Linked DNA regions of Homo sapiens: all the other regions are linked to region 4. Evidence: promoter capture Hi-C in 16 types of primary human blood cells and fetal thymus (Javierre and others, 2016). All regions are on one chromosome and are shown on one strand. The core of a region is centred on a gene start or on the middle of the fragment in contact, and the rest is flanking DNA. Distances in the headings are between cores, read along the strand shown.

Region 1 (3,451 bases), core at 657-3,156, 340 kb before region 4:
ATCTTTTAGTGTTTTTATACTAAGGTCAACTGGGGTTGAACGATCTCAGCTTTTGTGTCTGGTCTCTGCCCTCTGGCTGGGCCAGAGCTCCGTCTTTCAACCCTGTCCAGCTTCTGCTGTCTCTGTTCCCCTCTTGGCCCTGCAGCAGTCACTCTCTGCTAGGCCTCCAGGCCCTCATCTGAGGACCTGGGACAACCTCAGTAAAATTTTGGGTATTTCCCTCTGTTCAGCTGTCTCCTTTCTAGTACCCTGACCCCAAATTCCAGCCCCTCTGGCAGTCATGAACTCCAGTCTTTGCCTCCTCAGCTCACTGAGACTGAGGGAGGCTCTGCTTAGCCTCCCTTCCCCTCACTGTTTAGAAGGTGCCCCCAGGCAGAAAGTCTGGGCGGCCTAGGGGCTCACCTCGCCCGTGTCCTATCTTTTCAGCATCAGAATCTACACTTACTGTCCAGCGCCTGAAGACAGTTGCCATATGTATTTTGTCTAGTTTTGTCATATATGGCCAGAGGGCAGATCCAGGACCAGTGACTGTGTTCTGACTAGAAGTGGAATCTTTGCTTTAAGTGATGTGTCTTGCGTGTTAAATGTCAGGGGAGCAAGATCCCCCAGTGCTGAACATGGATCCTGTGGCTTCACCAACATGTAGCCCCTAGTGGCTGTTGGTCAATTGTCCCAGCACTGCTGCTGCAGGATTTGATGTTGTTAATGGTGATCTGTAGGCCTAGGCAGAGATGACAAAACAGTGGTTCCCAAACCTTTTTACTTTTCTTTACTTTTTTTTTTTTTTTTTTTTTTGCAACCTCTGTGGCCCAGGCTGGAGTGCAGTGGCACGATCTCGGCTCACTGCAAGCTCCGCCTCCCGGGTTCATGTCATTCTCCTGCCTCAGCCTCCCAAGTAGCTGGGACTACAGGCGCCCACCACCAGGCCCAGCTAATTTTTTATATTTTTAGTAGAGATGGGGTTTCACCGTGTTAGGCAGGATGGTCTCGATCTCCTGACCTCATGATCCGCCCACCTCGGCCTCCCAAAGTGCTGGGATTACAGGCGTGAGCCACTATGCCCGGCCAACCTTTCTACTTTTCTAATTCACCTGAAATACTTGTTTAAAATACTATTTCCTGGGACCCCCCCTCAGACTTGCTCAGTCAGCCTTAGGGGTCTGCCCCTTGTTTTTCAACAGGTCCCCAAAGCGTTGGTCAGCATGCACTGGAAAGGGCTCTCATGAACAATCCTTTATCAGTGCTGTTAAGTCAATATAGAATTAATGAAGACCTGGGGTCTCAGGGTCTGAGTCTTTTTCGTACGGTGTGAAGGCTTGGCTGATACCAGAAACAACCTGGAAAATGTTGGCCTTTTTAACAGTTTATGGTTTTTTGGCTGTCTGCTTTCCTTCCCTTTCTCTTTGTGTTGCTTTCTCCCTCATCTAAGCTTATTCACCTCTTTTATTTTTTTCAGAGACGGGGTCTCACTCTGTTGCCCAGGCTGGAGTGGAGTGGCGTGATCATAGTTCACCACAGCCTCAAACTCCTGGGCTCAGGCGATCCCCCCACCTCAGCCTCCCAGGTAGTTGGTACTACAGGCACACACCATCACACCCAGCAATTTTAAAATTTTTTTGTAGAGATGGAGTTTTGCTATGTTGCCCAGGCTGGTCTTGGCCTCCAGCGATCCTCCTGCCTTGGCCTCCCAAAGTATTAGGATTGCAGACATGGGCCACTGTGCCCAGCCACTTAATTCACCTCTTATACGATAGCATGGTATAAAAGGAAAAATCCAATTATTTGGAACTTCTAGTTCTGTTTGGGTTAATTTTTATGTTTGTTTTAAGTGCTTTACATTCTTCCTTGTTTTTTAGGGAGACATTAGAGAAGCAAGTATTTTCTCTCTGGAGGCAGAAGATGTTTCAGCATCGAGAAAACCGCCTGGCAGAGAGAATGGTAAATGGCTGTCCCTGAGGAGATGTGTGGAGGGGCAGGATCTGATTCAAGCCATTGCACTCACGGCCTCCCCTCCTCAGGAAGTTGCTCGGACCTCACTGGAGGGCCCCTGCCTGTGACTGTTGAGGCAGGGCAGGCTCTGGGGCATCTGTCCTTTCTCAGTGGAGCCTACAGACAGCTTCTGGGCTGGACCACGTCCTGACATCCATTCCTTTTGCCTTAGTCATTATTTGTGGCCTGTAAATTCTTTCCTGGCTTCTGTGCCTCTCTCCTACTTGATTTATTCTGTTCTCTCCTTCCTGTCCTGCCTCAGGCCATCCTTCACGCAGAGCGACAGCTTCTGTATAGGTCTTGGTTCATGTGGCACCAGCAGGCAGCAGCACGTCACCAGGAGCAGGAGTGGCAAACAGTGGCCTGTGCCCACCACCGCCACGGGCGGCTCAAGAAAGCTTTCTGCCTCTGGAGGGAAAGTGCCCAAGGGCTCAGAACAGAGTGAGTGGCCAGTTCTGCCTTACAAGCCTTTCCATCACAGGCCAGCTTTGCTTGTTCTAGCAGCACCATGAGCTCCAAGTGCCTGTCTGGAGGACTGCATTACCCCAGACTCTGGTTGTAAGTTCTGGAAGTTCAACCTAAAAGAGTCTTAAGTAAAACTAGGTTGGCCGGGCACAGTGGCTCACGCCTGTAATCCCAGCACTTTGGGAGGCTGAGGCGGGCAGATCACCAGAGGTCAGGAGTTCGAGACCAGCCTGACCAACATGGAGAAAACCCTCTCTATTAATAATACAAAAATTAGCCAGGCGTGGTGGCGCAAGCATGTAATCCCAGTTACTCAGGAGAGTGAAGCACGGAAATTGGCATGAACCCGGGAAGTGAAGGTTGCAGTGAACCGAGATGGCACCGCTACACTCCAGCCTGTGCAACAGAGCGAGACTCTGCCTCAAACGAACAAAAGTGACCATAGCCAGGGAATAAACTGATGGGCCCATATTGTGATAGCTGACTGCTGCAGATAAGGGATAGGGACAGCAGCTGTGGCCAGTGGGTGGGTTGTGGCAGTTTTTAACCACACCACGTAGTTAAGAGAGAGGAGGGGAGGCAGCCCAGTCACTATAGAGACTGTCCTGCTTTGGGGCCTTTCAGTGTCCACTGTGTGTTCTGAGGATCTCACTCCCTGTCGCACACTGACCATGTTTAACCAGTTTCTCAGTTGGGGGCTTCACACCTGCACATGTGAGCTTCAATGGCACCTGAAGCCCTGGGAAGTTGTAGGCCAAAATTTGATCATAGGTGCTTTTTTCTGAGACTGCAAGTTCTTTGGCAGCTCTTCAGAGAGGGTCTTGGCTCCCCCAAAAACTTAACCAGGTAGGGCTATGGACTATGAGGAGGAACCCATAGAGGGTGCCCTCACTGGGTGGGGGCTGCAGCACTGAGCTCTGCCATCTCCCCACAGGAGGACGGGCAGGGTGCGGGCAGCAGAATTCCACATGGCCCAGCTCCTGCGTTGGGCCTGGAG
Region 2 (3,712 bases), core at 287-2,786, 460 kb after region 4:
ACCCCCAGCTAATTTTTCTATTTTTAATAGAGACACGGTTTCACCATGTTGGCCAAGATGGTTTTGATCTCTTGACCTCATGATCCACCCGCCTCGGCCTCCCAAAGTGCTGGGATTACAGACGTGAGCCACCGTGCCCGGCCAATGCTACACACTTAACAGCAGATGTCCACAGTGATCTTACCTGGGGATACTACTGCTTCAGGGTCATTCATATCAAAGGCTGCCATGTTCCCAATAGCAAACCCATATCCTGAATGGACATCAGGAAGCCCAATAGATCGCTGAAAAAGAATTAGAAAATGAAATACAAGTGTCTTGACCTGCTACCCTGGATGCCCTGATGGACCTGACACTGATTCTCAAACAGGTTGCAGGCTGAAGCTTTCCCTAAATCAAGACTGTGTTTTCACAAAATCTTCTATATGCATGGAAATAGTAAGAACTCCTAATCACAAAGCTAAATACAGTGAGAAAAAAACTTTTTTATAAGATCTGAATGTTAATTAAGGAAATACAAAACAGAAAAGCCTCAAAATAACATGATATAGGAGTAACACATACTAAGTTTAATGTACTATTACATTTTAAAAATAATCTTAAGACACTGACAAACTTTGGTTTGTCAGGTTAAGAAGAGGAAAATAACTGATTTATATAGGTCATTAGTTTAAGTAATCACAGCCAAATGTAATCCATTTGATGGTATAAATACTGTAGACTTCCTACATGTGGAGCCTAGAAAAGGACCCTGACCCAGGAAGAATGCAGGTCAAACACAGGATATATGGAGATACCCAGACACTAACAACTTCCTTATATACACAAGCCATACCATTTCATTCCCTCTACCAAGTGCCCAACATGGTAACTGGCATAAAGAAGACCTCAAAAATGTCTGCCGAATAGATCCATTTTCAACATCTACCTCTGATAGAATATGAATGTTAAACTGTGGTGGGGGCTATGCTGTCCTCTCTTCCTCCCCCTCAGTGCTAACCCTTAAACTTCTTGCCATTTCTTCTTCAATGATCCTCTGCATAGGAAGTGAAACTTACAACCAAGCGAAACTTACAATGAAACTTACATTGAAACAGTGAAGTGAAACTTACAATGAAACTTACAATGGTGGTGCACTGATCCAGGAATAATGTTACCATGATAAGAAACAAAACACAAAAACTACTTCGAAGGTTCTTAACACTTACAGATTCTAGCCAAATGCATTCAGAAACTGAAATACCATCCAGATTCAATTATTTCTTTAGGTCCATGGTTATTTCCTTTTATTTTTTATTTTTAGGGACAGGGTCTCACTCTGCCATCCACGCTAAAAGTGCAGTGGCGTGATCATGGCTCAGTGCAGTGTGGAACTCTGGGCTCAAGCAATCCTCCCACTTAGCATTCTAAGTAGCTGGGACAACAAGCATGTGACATCACACCTGACTAATTTTTTTGGTATAGACAGGGTCTTGCCATGTTGCCCAGACTAGTCTTGAATTCCTGGGCTCATGCAATCCTTCCATCTTGGTCTCTCAAAGTGTTGCGGGTGGCATGAGCCACTGAGCCTGGCTTCATGGTTATGTCTGGCTGTCCAAAGGTCATTGTCTAAATGACACCACTATCAGGCATGGCCATTCATCCATTCAATGGACTTTAAGAAATATAAATGATTAAAGTTCTGAACTCTGACTCACATGAACAATTCCAGGCAGGGCTGCCACATTGCCAATCTGTTTCATGGCTGGCAGGAAGCCACCAACACCTGAAGACAAAAATTGGGTATTAGAAAAGACAACACACTTGATTTTTAGCATGAATTATATTCATGTTTTTAGACTGTATAACGTGAAGAGGTAGTCATTAGGGCTACTAAGACAACAAAGCCTAGAAGGATGTTTGAGATGCAAGATGGAAGGGAGCTCCTTTTAGAGTCACTGTAAGTATTGCATGAGATAATCTCTGCAAAGCACCTAGTAACATGCCTGGAATATAGTAAGTGCAAAACAAATGGTAGGTCACTTGCTATTATTGTTCAAGGTTAGCTGAGAAACAAGTTCTACCCAGCTTCAAATTCCAGATGGAGCTTCAAATCCGTTCTATAACGCCAACTGGCTGACAATGTGATCACAAATAAGTAAGTGCTTTTGGTCTTACTTTTAAGTTGTAATCACTCCTTGACAATATTTCAGAATTATAATTATTTGAGTTGCCACTTTTTCAGGCCACAGGGAAGGCACTACCGTACTAACACAAGTGAAACTCTAATGTACTTACCACCACCTCGACAGGCATTCCTTAATTCCTCAAACATCAATTTCTCCAGAGCATCATTCACATAGAAAACACCTTCAACCTAGTACCAAGGAAAGTGAAAAGCAATGTCTGAGTACATGCGCGGCAAGTGTAGGCACTGGACAGAATGCACTGTATGCAATATTTACTGTGCTTTACTCTTTACCAAACACTTTCACGTTACCTTAAGCACACAGAAAACTTCCTATCAAAGACTACGAGCTGCTCCCATCGGAAAATATACCTTAAGAAAAATTCTGCAATGTTCACAAATTGTTTTGTTTATTCTCATACCCTCAAAACCACATTTAAGAATTCAACAGATTCAGCATCTTTTTGTGATAAAGAAAAATCTTCCAACTATACTCTCACAAAGCCCAAAGGTCTTAATCCTCAAGCTTCAAAAATATCAATGGTTTTTTGAAAATTAAAAAAAAAAACCAAATGAATCAAAAAGTCCAATTCTAAACATAAAACGTAGTCATCTAACCTAGTATGTTTATTCTGTGTTTAAGCCAATAGCAAATTACATTTTATTGTGCTCTAGTGGTGACTTACAAATCTCTAGTTAGGTAAATAGTGAGAAGAAAAATTTAACATGCAGCTACGTAGTTGTGTGCTCAGTTCTGAAAGCTATATAATTTTTTAAAAAATCTATAATTTTAAAGCTTGACAATAGAGGCAGCACACAGAAGGCAATGGACGACATACTTATGTAACACTAAAGAGCAGAACATTTTTATCACAGGTCAAATATTGTGAAAGAGCTGTCCAGTAATGGAGAACCAAAGATTTAACACTTAATCAATTGAATGTAGTTTTTATCAGAAAGATGACTTCATCACCATTGCATAAATAACAATTTAATACCCACTGATGGAAAATATTTCCAGTATAATTTCTTAAGGGTCACATTTATTAATTCACCAAACATTAACTGAGGATTTACTATGCATGAAGCACTGTCCTGGGCACTAGGGGAGATAGAAAGAATATAAGATCTTCCTTTCAAGGAGCTCCCAGTACACAATACAGCTCTTATATACTTTTGTTTTTTTTTTTTGAGACTGAGTCTTGCTCTGTCACCCAGGCTGGAGTGCAGTGGCATGATCTCGGCTCACTGCAAGCTCTGCCTCCTGGGTTCACGCCATTCTCCTGCCTCAGCCTCCCGAGTAGCTGGGACTACAGGTGCCCGCCACCACGCCCAGCTAATTTTTTGTATTTTTAGTAGAGACGAAGTTTCACGTGTTAGCCAGGATGGTCTCGATCTCCTGACCTCATGATCCGCCCATCTCAGCCTCCCAAAGTGCTGGGATTGCAGGCGTGAGCCACCGCACCCAGCCAGTACAGCCCTTATATTCTGATAAGAATATCAGAGTGCAATGAAGCAAGTGCCATAACATTAAGTACACAGTGC
Region 3 (3,348 bases), core at 408-2,907, 360 kb before region 4:
GACGGGGTTTCACCATGTTAGCCAAGATGGTCTCGATCTCCTGACCTCGTGATCCGCCCGCCTCGGCCTCCCAAAGTGCTGGGATTACAGGCGTGAGCCACCACGCCCGGCCTAATTTTTTAGTTTTTTTATACAGACGGAGTCTCCTTCTGTTGGCCAGGCTGGTCTTGAACTCCTGTGCTCAAGCAGTCCTCCTGCCTCAGCATCCTAAAGTGTTGGGATTACAGGTGTGAGCCACTGCACCTGGCCTTTTAGGCATTATTGATGGAGCTGGATCCAGGTCCATCCTGGCCCAACTCCAACCCTTCCTTTCACTAAAGATTCCTTCTTCCATTTTAGCAGCACTGCATTTATAATCATACAAATGTATGCACTGAGCCCACATGGTAAAAAAACAAAAACCACCACAGACAAAAAGTCTGTCTTCTCCTGAGAGGCAACAGTTGATGTTTACCTTGGTCTGTAGAATTGTCATGTGGGTCATGGGGTTCTTTCCTGGTGTGGGTGTGTTTGTTCTTGTGCAGTATAGATGGACAGCAGGGAGGGTTCAGCAAATATTTATTAAGTGCCTGCTGTGCAGGCTGGCTTGTGTTAGGCTCCCAGTTGAATCTCAAAGCAGAGAAACACTCAGGGAGATGGAACAGCTACAAGAAGCTGTGACCAAGCTTCTCCCCGCTGATTTGAGGCACTGTTTGCCTTCCTCTACTCTTAGTTTACAGACTCTACTGATCCCAGTCCTTGTAATCAGTTGTGTCCTTTCTTTGCACAGTATTTTTGCTTTAGAGCCCTAAAAGACAATGTGACCCACGCTCATCTCCAGCAAATAAGAAGGAATCTTGCTCACCAGCAGCATGGTGTCACGGTGAGGGTTGTCTTCTGTATCAAGGGACCTCTTCTGAAGGCCATTCTCTCTCGCTCTTTTTTTCAGTCTTGCCAAATTAAGCAGAACTCTTTTTAAAAAAACTTTTTGTGCTTCAAGATTTGTCCAGACTGTCAACTGTAAAACCTTAGTTTGCATTTTCTTTCTTTCTTTTCTTTTCTTTTTTTTTTTTTTTTTTTTGAGACAGTCTTTCTCTATTGCCCAGACTGTAATACAGTGGCACGATCTCAGCTCACTGCAACCTCCGCCTCCCGGGTTCAAGCAATTCTCCTGCCTCAGCCTCTTGAGTAGCTGGGATTACAGGCATGCGCCACTACACCTTCCTAATTTTTGTATTTGTAGTAGAGACGAGGTTTCACCATGTTGGCCAGGCTTGTCTCGAACTCCTGACTTCAGATGATCCACCCGCCTCAGCCTCCCAAAGTGCTGGGATTACAGGCGTGAGTCACCATGCTCGGCCTTTTTAGTTTGCATTTTCTTTGGTAATCCATACCTGCTGATAGAAAAACTTGTTTGATCCCATTTTTTTATCTATTTGCCAAGAAATGGATAGTTGACTCAAAGTTCAGGGACTGTGGATTTTAAACCTGACCTAGGGGATATAGTGATACAAATACTTTCTTTTTTTCTTTACTTATTTAGAGGCAGGGTCTTGTTCTGTCACCCAGGCTGTAGTGCAGTAGATCACTGCAGGTTCAAGTGATCCTCCTGCCTCAGCCTCCCAAGTAGTTGGGACTACAGCTGTAAGCCACCACACCCAGCTAATTTTTGTATTTTTTGTAGATGGGGTCCTACTATGTTGCCTAGGCTGATCTCAAACTCCTGGGCTCAAGTGATCTGCCCACCTTCGCCTCTCAAAGTGCTGGGATTACAGGTGTGAGCCACCGCACCTGGCCCAAATATACTTTTTTTTTTTTTGAGACAGGGTCTTGCTCTGTTGCCCAGGCTGGTGTGCAGCTGCAGTGGTGCGATCTCAACTCACTGCAACCTCCACCTCCCAAGTTCAAGCGATTCTCATGTCTCAGCCTCCCAAGTAGCTGGGATCACAGGTGTGCACCACCAAGCCCAGCTAATTTTTTTGTATTTTTAGTAGAGACGGGTTTTTCCCCATGTTGGTTGGGCTGGTCGCAAACTCCTGGCCTCAAGCAATCCACCTGCCTCGGCCTCCTAAAGTGCTGGGATTACAGACATGAGCCACCATGCCCGGCCCCAATAGGAGGCTTTGGTTGTGTTTCTATTGTAAGTCTATTCACTTCCATTGTAAGTCCATTATAAAACAATGGTTTGTTTACTTGATGCCAACATATATTGTCTCTACTTTCTTGGTGTAGGATTTTTTTCCCTGTTACTATTTTATGAAAAATGTTTAAACATACAGAAAAATAGGAAAAAAAAGTATAATAAGCCTCTATATAGTCACTACCTGGATATAGTAATTGTTAATATTTGCTATGTTTGCCTCATTGTTTTTTGCTGAATAATTTCAAAGTAAATTATAGACATCATGACACTTTGCACCTAAATATTTCAGCATGCGTCACTCAGAGACATTTTCTTATGTAACGACAATGTCATTATCATCCCTAAGAAAAGTAACAGTGATTCCCTAACATTAATATCTAGTCAACATTCAAATTTCCATAGTTGTCTTAAAAATGTCTTATTTGTAGCTGCTTTTTACAAACCAGAATGCAGTTAAGGATCACTAACTCCATTTGGTTCTTTTCTGATTGATTTTTAGCAGAAATGGATTTTGTTGCTATATTTCTTAAAGCTTTTAATCTAGAACTTTCCTTCCCCCAACAACACTTCTTTATTACATTTTATATATATATATATATATATATATATATATTTTTTTTTTTTTTTTTTTTTTTTTTTTTTTGAAACCGGGTCTCGCTCTCGCCCAGGCTGGAGTGCAGTAAGTAGCTTGATCTCGGCTCACTGCAACCTCCACCTTCCGTGTTCAAACTGTTCTCCTGCCTCAGCCTCCCAGGTAGCTGGGACTACAGACGCACACCATCACGCCTGGCCAATTTTTGTATTTTTAGTAGAGATGGGGTTTCACCGTGTTGGCCAGGCTGGTCTCAAACTCCTGACCTTTGGTGATCCTCCCACCTCGGCCTCCCAAAGTGTTGGGATTACAGGCGTGAGCCACGACACCCGGCCTATTATATTTTTTAATTGTGGTAAAAGATACATCACTTAAACTTTATCACCTTAACCATTTTTAAGTGTACAGTTCAGTGACATGTACATCCACATTGTGCAATCATCATCACTATTCATCTCTAGAACTTTTTCATCTTGCAAAATTGAAACTCTGTACCCATTTCCTCTTTCCTCAGCCCCTGGAAACCACCATTCTACTTTCTGTCTCTATAAATTAGATTATTCTAGAGACCTCATAGGTGGAATCATATAGTATTTGTCCTTTTGCAACTGGCTTATTTCACTTAGCATAATGT
Region 4 (3,687 bases), core at 1,003-3,502:
GAGGTGGGCACTATGAAACCTCCTTGGCTTTGACAACAAGGAGGGCTCTGATGGCCACGGTGGAGGAGTAGGGACAGGGTGAGAGCACACTGAGCTGATGGGTGGGTAGGAGGTGAGGAAGAGGAGATGAGGAAGTTTGGTGAGAAGAAAAGCTTCATGGGAGAACCAGAGTGTCCTTTACACATGTCAGAAATCAATTATTTAGAATGCTCCAGCTCTACCTAATTTTCACTGTTTTGAAATCAATCTTAGTCCAACCTCATCAGAAAAGCTGGAAGGGCTCTAAGCCCTCTAAGAGCTAGAAGGAACCGAGGAGGTCCCCCCATCCAGGGCTGGCCCTCCTCCCATCTCTCACTGGGACCCCATCCTTATGGGGGGTGGAGTGGATGATTCATTACTATCTAGCATGCTCTTTAAATATATTCACTAGGGGAAAGATTAGCCTGGTTTGTTAACCTCGATTCCAACAGCAAAAGTGACTCTTCAAAGCATGGTGAAGCCTGGGGTAGTGGCCTCCTCCTAGACCCACATTCAAATCCTGTTTCATGGGCCCCCAGAAGTGTGATCGTTTCAGCATCATAGCAGGAAGAGGAAGGCCTGGGAGGCAGGAAACCTGGTATGGAGACCCCAGCTCTGCTCACTCGCTGTGCAAACTAGGGCCAGCCCCTCCTTTCCCTCAGACCTCAGTTTCCCGTTATTCAGGATAAGGGGTTAGACAGGGGTGATTCTAAGGGTCCTGCCAGCTCTGACATTTCAGCATGTGGATATCTATTCTAAAGTCCTTGAAACAGTTAAGTCCAATTCTCCAGATGGAAAACAGGTCCAGAAAAGGCCTGGTCTCCAGTTCCCTCCCTTCTCCCTTCGAACATGTCTTACTCTCTAGAGCAAGATTCCAGGCCTGAAATATGGCTTCCCAATTACCTAAGGATGAAGCCTCAAATCTTTGGCCTGGCATTTAAAAGACTCCGTAATCTTGTTTTACCCAACCTCACTTCCCATTCTTAGGCCTCTCTTCTCACCATCTCCCAGGTCACTGCCAAGCCTTTGCCAATGCTGTACCCCAGGCCTTAATCTTTTTCCTGACTCTCCTTCAAGATCCAGCTTATCCCTGTGGGCTGAGCATGCAGTAGATGCTCAATAAAATTCTCAGCGAGCCCAAGGCCCCCTCTCCTGCACTGCCCTTGGCGTGTTGAAATCAAGTGGGGGCCTTGTTTTAATCATCATTTTCCTAGCTTGTCGGGCAGCCCAGTCCAGGGCCTGGCACAAGGGACCCTCAGCATCCAATACCAGCCAGGATTGGGAGGGGCTCAGTGACCAGCCAGTTGGGCCACCCCAGCTCTTTGCCACAAGAGAAAGTTCAGCCTGGGTTTGGACTCAGATCCTGGCCCCACCACTTACAGGCTGCGTAACCCTGAGCAAGTCACTAACCTCGCTTTTCCTCAGGTTCCACGTTTTAAATATGGGGAGACCAGCTGTGCCCACTGTGGGCTGGGTAGTGAGGATTAAAGAGGAGGATGCTTGTACGGGACTAGCACTGGGCTGGCTCCTAATGTGTCCTGAATATTACTTGTCCCGCCCTGGCCACCCAGTCCCCTCCTCTGGTGGAAGGCACAGCCTGCCCAAGGCTACGTCTCAGGTTGGGTTCGATTGTGTGTGTCTGTGTAGCGGGGCTGTCCCCGAGGGTCGGACTCGATCCTGCCCGGACCAGTACAAGGTGTGGCCCAGCAGAACGCATGGACAGGCAGGGCTCGGGGCGGGCGGGACGGCTGGGGCGGGGCTGGGCGGACCCGCCCCTCGGGGCACGCGGTCTCCCGGCTTCTCCGCCAGTATGTTTGCTTGCTTTTGGGGCCCTTCTCAAGCCAGATCTCTAACGTGGATGGAGTGGCGCGTTTCAGGGTGGGGCTATGACAATGCACTGCCTGTGCAGCCGCCATCACCGCGCCCCCTCCACCGGCTCCGCAGTCTCCTGCCCGGCTTTCCCTTCTCCACCTCCATCTCTGCGGCGGTAAAATGCAGCACTCGCAGAGCGCCTGCGCGGCTTTCAGGCCGGGCGGCGGCGGCGGCGGTGGCTATTTATAGTAGGTGACGTCACCTTGAAATAGACCGTTAGGGCCGGCCCGCCCTTCCCCCCTCCCACTCCCGCCGCTCCCCGCCGCCCGGCCTGGCCACTCTCACTGCGCAGGCGTCGTCCCGTCCTCCCATCCCCCAGCGCGGCCGCGTCTCCTCCCTCGGCGTTGTCCGCGGCGCGAGCCACAGCGCGCGGGGCGAGCCAGCGAGAGGGCGCGAGCGGCGGCGCTGCCTGCAGCCTGCAGCCTGCAGCCTCCGGCCGGCCGGCGAGCCAGTGCGCGTGCGCGGCGGCGGCCTCCGCAGCGACCGGGGAGCGGACTGACCGGCGGGAGGGCTAGCGAGCCAGCGGTGTGAGGCGCGAGGCGAGGCCGAGCCGCGAGCGACATGGGGGACCGGGAGCAGCTGCTGCAGCGGGCGCGGCTGGCCGAGCAGGCGGAGCGCTACGACGACATGGCCTCCGCTATGAAGGCGGTGAGCGCGCCGGGAGCCCGGGCGGCTGGCCGGGGGGGGCCTGGCGTTGGGGAGGGACGGGGATGGCCGCGGGCGCGTTCCCCTCCCGGCCATGGGCGACCCGGCGACCCGGCTGGGCGTGGCCGCCCGCCCGCCCTTAGCCCGCGCTTCCCGCTCCCGCTGGGCGCCCCGCCACTTCCTGAGGCTGGGCCCAGGGTGGGGGATCCGGGAGGGTGCAGTTCGGGATCGCGAAGGCAGCCCCGGAAGGGGGGCGGGCCGGTCGGGGTCGCCACATCTTAGTTCGGAACCCGGCCGGGGGCAGAGGGTGCCCTAGGGGACGCGAAGGAGCCGCATTTCTCCTAGAGCGTTTCACCGGACCCGGGGGCTCCCCCTCTCGTCTTCCTCCGTTCCCCAACTTGGAATAAAGAATCACCTAGTAAGTGGCGCCCTGTCTCAGCTGGTTTTCTCTGCCACGACCTGAAGTCTGCAATTCCGATCTGTTTTGCTCTGCTCGTTCGAATTGTTCTGGTTCCATCTTCCCACGCCTGGGGGTCTGGCTTTGTGTGCGAAGACCCCTTTCCTGCAGTCTAGGCGTGGACGGGGGCGGGAGAGTGGGCGGAGGGTGTGGGGCCCCACTCCACAGCCCCAGGTTTGCTGCTGCGCTGTCTGCTTGGAGATTAAAATGAAACGTGACTTCTAGGTGAGACGAATCTGTGTGTCTTTGCATTCCTGAGACCCTCATAAATCGATTCTGCAGCTTCTCCGGTGGATGAGTCGTGCCCAGCCACACCCTAGCAAAATACCGTGGGTCACACACCACCTGCATTTCTGAGTTCCGGTTACCATCTCACTCTCTCTCCACGTTATTTTACGTTTTCTGTAAATGAATATTTCCTCTCCCTGCGTCAAGGTCACACAGTGGTAGAACAACTGCGACCACCAACCTATGTTCAGTGTACAACCTCCTGAGACCTGGGAGGATCCCCTTGAACTCCGCCTTAGACCTATACATTCAGAAATTCGGGCGGTGAGACTCAGACATCTGCATTGTAACCAGCTCTCACAGGCGATTTTTAGCTGGCTTAAGTCTGAGAATTACTGCCCATGATTATAGTAAATGTATCCTTTGCTGGCCTTTTGGAGGGAGTTCCGAAAAAAAACTGCCAATAC

Evidence for each region. Contacts are between HindIII fragments. The CHiCAGO score rates a contact against its expected background, and 5 or more counts as called.
Region 1: a fragment that was not itself captured here is called in contact with the fragment with the promoter of YWHAH in region 4 in 1 of 17 cell types (endothelial precursors); the score reaches 5.0 in endothelial precursors.
Region 2: a contact is called between a fragment that was not itself captured here and the fragment with the promoter of YWHAH in region 4, in 2 of 17 cell types (monocytes and total B cells). The highest score is 5.6, in monocytes.
Region 3: a fragment that was not itself captured here is called in contact with the fragment with the promoter of YWHAH in region 4 in 1 of 17 cell types (endothelial precursors); the score reaches 7.8 in endothelial precursors.

The regions. Positions count from the first base shown.
Region 1 is chr22:31,600,356-31,603,806 of GRCh38, forward strand. It overlaps SFI1 (SFI1 centrin binding protein), which reads left to right. Exons shown (of 33, transcript NM_001007467.3): 16 at 1,857-1,938; 17 at 2,252-2,430; 18 at 3,389-3,451. Among named protein-coding and RNA genes, the nearest start is that of MIR7109, 19 kb to the right of the region's middle. The HindIII fragment of the contact is 958 bases long and covers 1,428-2,385 here.
Region 2 is chr22:32,406,478-32,410,189 of GRCh38, forward strand. It overlaps RTCB (RNA 2',3'-cyclic phosphate and 5'-OH ligase), which reads right to left. Exons shown (of 12, transcript NM_014306.5): 2 at 2,278-2,356; 3 at 1,698-1,765; 4 at 185-284. Among named protein-coding and RNA genes, the nearest start is that of RTCB, 3.9 kb to the right of the region's middle. The HindIII fragment of the contact is 2,309 bases long and covers 383-2,691 here.
Region 3 is chr22:31,579,503-31,582,850 of GRCh38, forward strand. SFI1 (SFI1 centrin binding protein) reads left to right here. Exons shown (of 33, transcript NM_001007467.3): 12 at 770-862. Among named protein-coding and RNA genes, the nearest start is that of MIR7109, 40 kb to the right of the region's middle. RefSeq lists a silencer at 381-675 and an enhancer at 2,890-3,109. The HindIII fragment of the contact is 1,989 bases long and covers 664-2,652 here.
Region 4 is chr22:31,942,283-31,945,969 of GRCh38, forward strand. YWHAH (tyrosine 3-monooxygenase/tryptophan 5-monooxygenase activation protein eta) reads left to right here and starts at 2,253. Exons shown (of 2, transcript NM_003405.4): 1 at 2,253-2,538. The coding sequence starts at 2,452. It overlaps YWHAH-AS1 (YWHAH antisense RNA 1), which reads right to left and starts at 3,084. Exons shown (of 3, transcript NR_171018.1): 1 at 2,951-3,084. It overlaps LOC124900477 (a long non-coding RNA gene), which reads left to right and starts at 2,552. Exons shown (of 3, transcript XR_007068065.1): 1 at 2,552-2,953; 2 at 3,218-3,396. RefSeq lists enhancers at 715-1,572, 1,573-2,430, 3,174-3,223 and silencers at 1,694-1,843, 2,124-2,213, 2,224-2,443, 2,514-2,853. The HindIII fragment of the contact is 4,478 bases long and covers 151-3,687 here.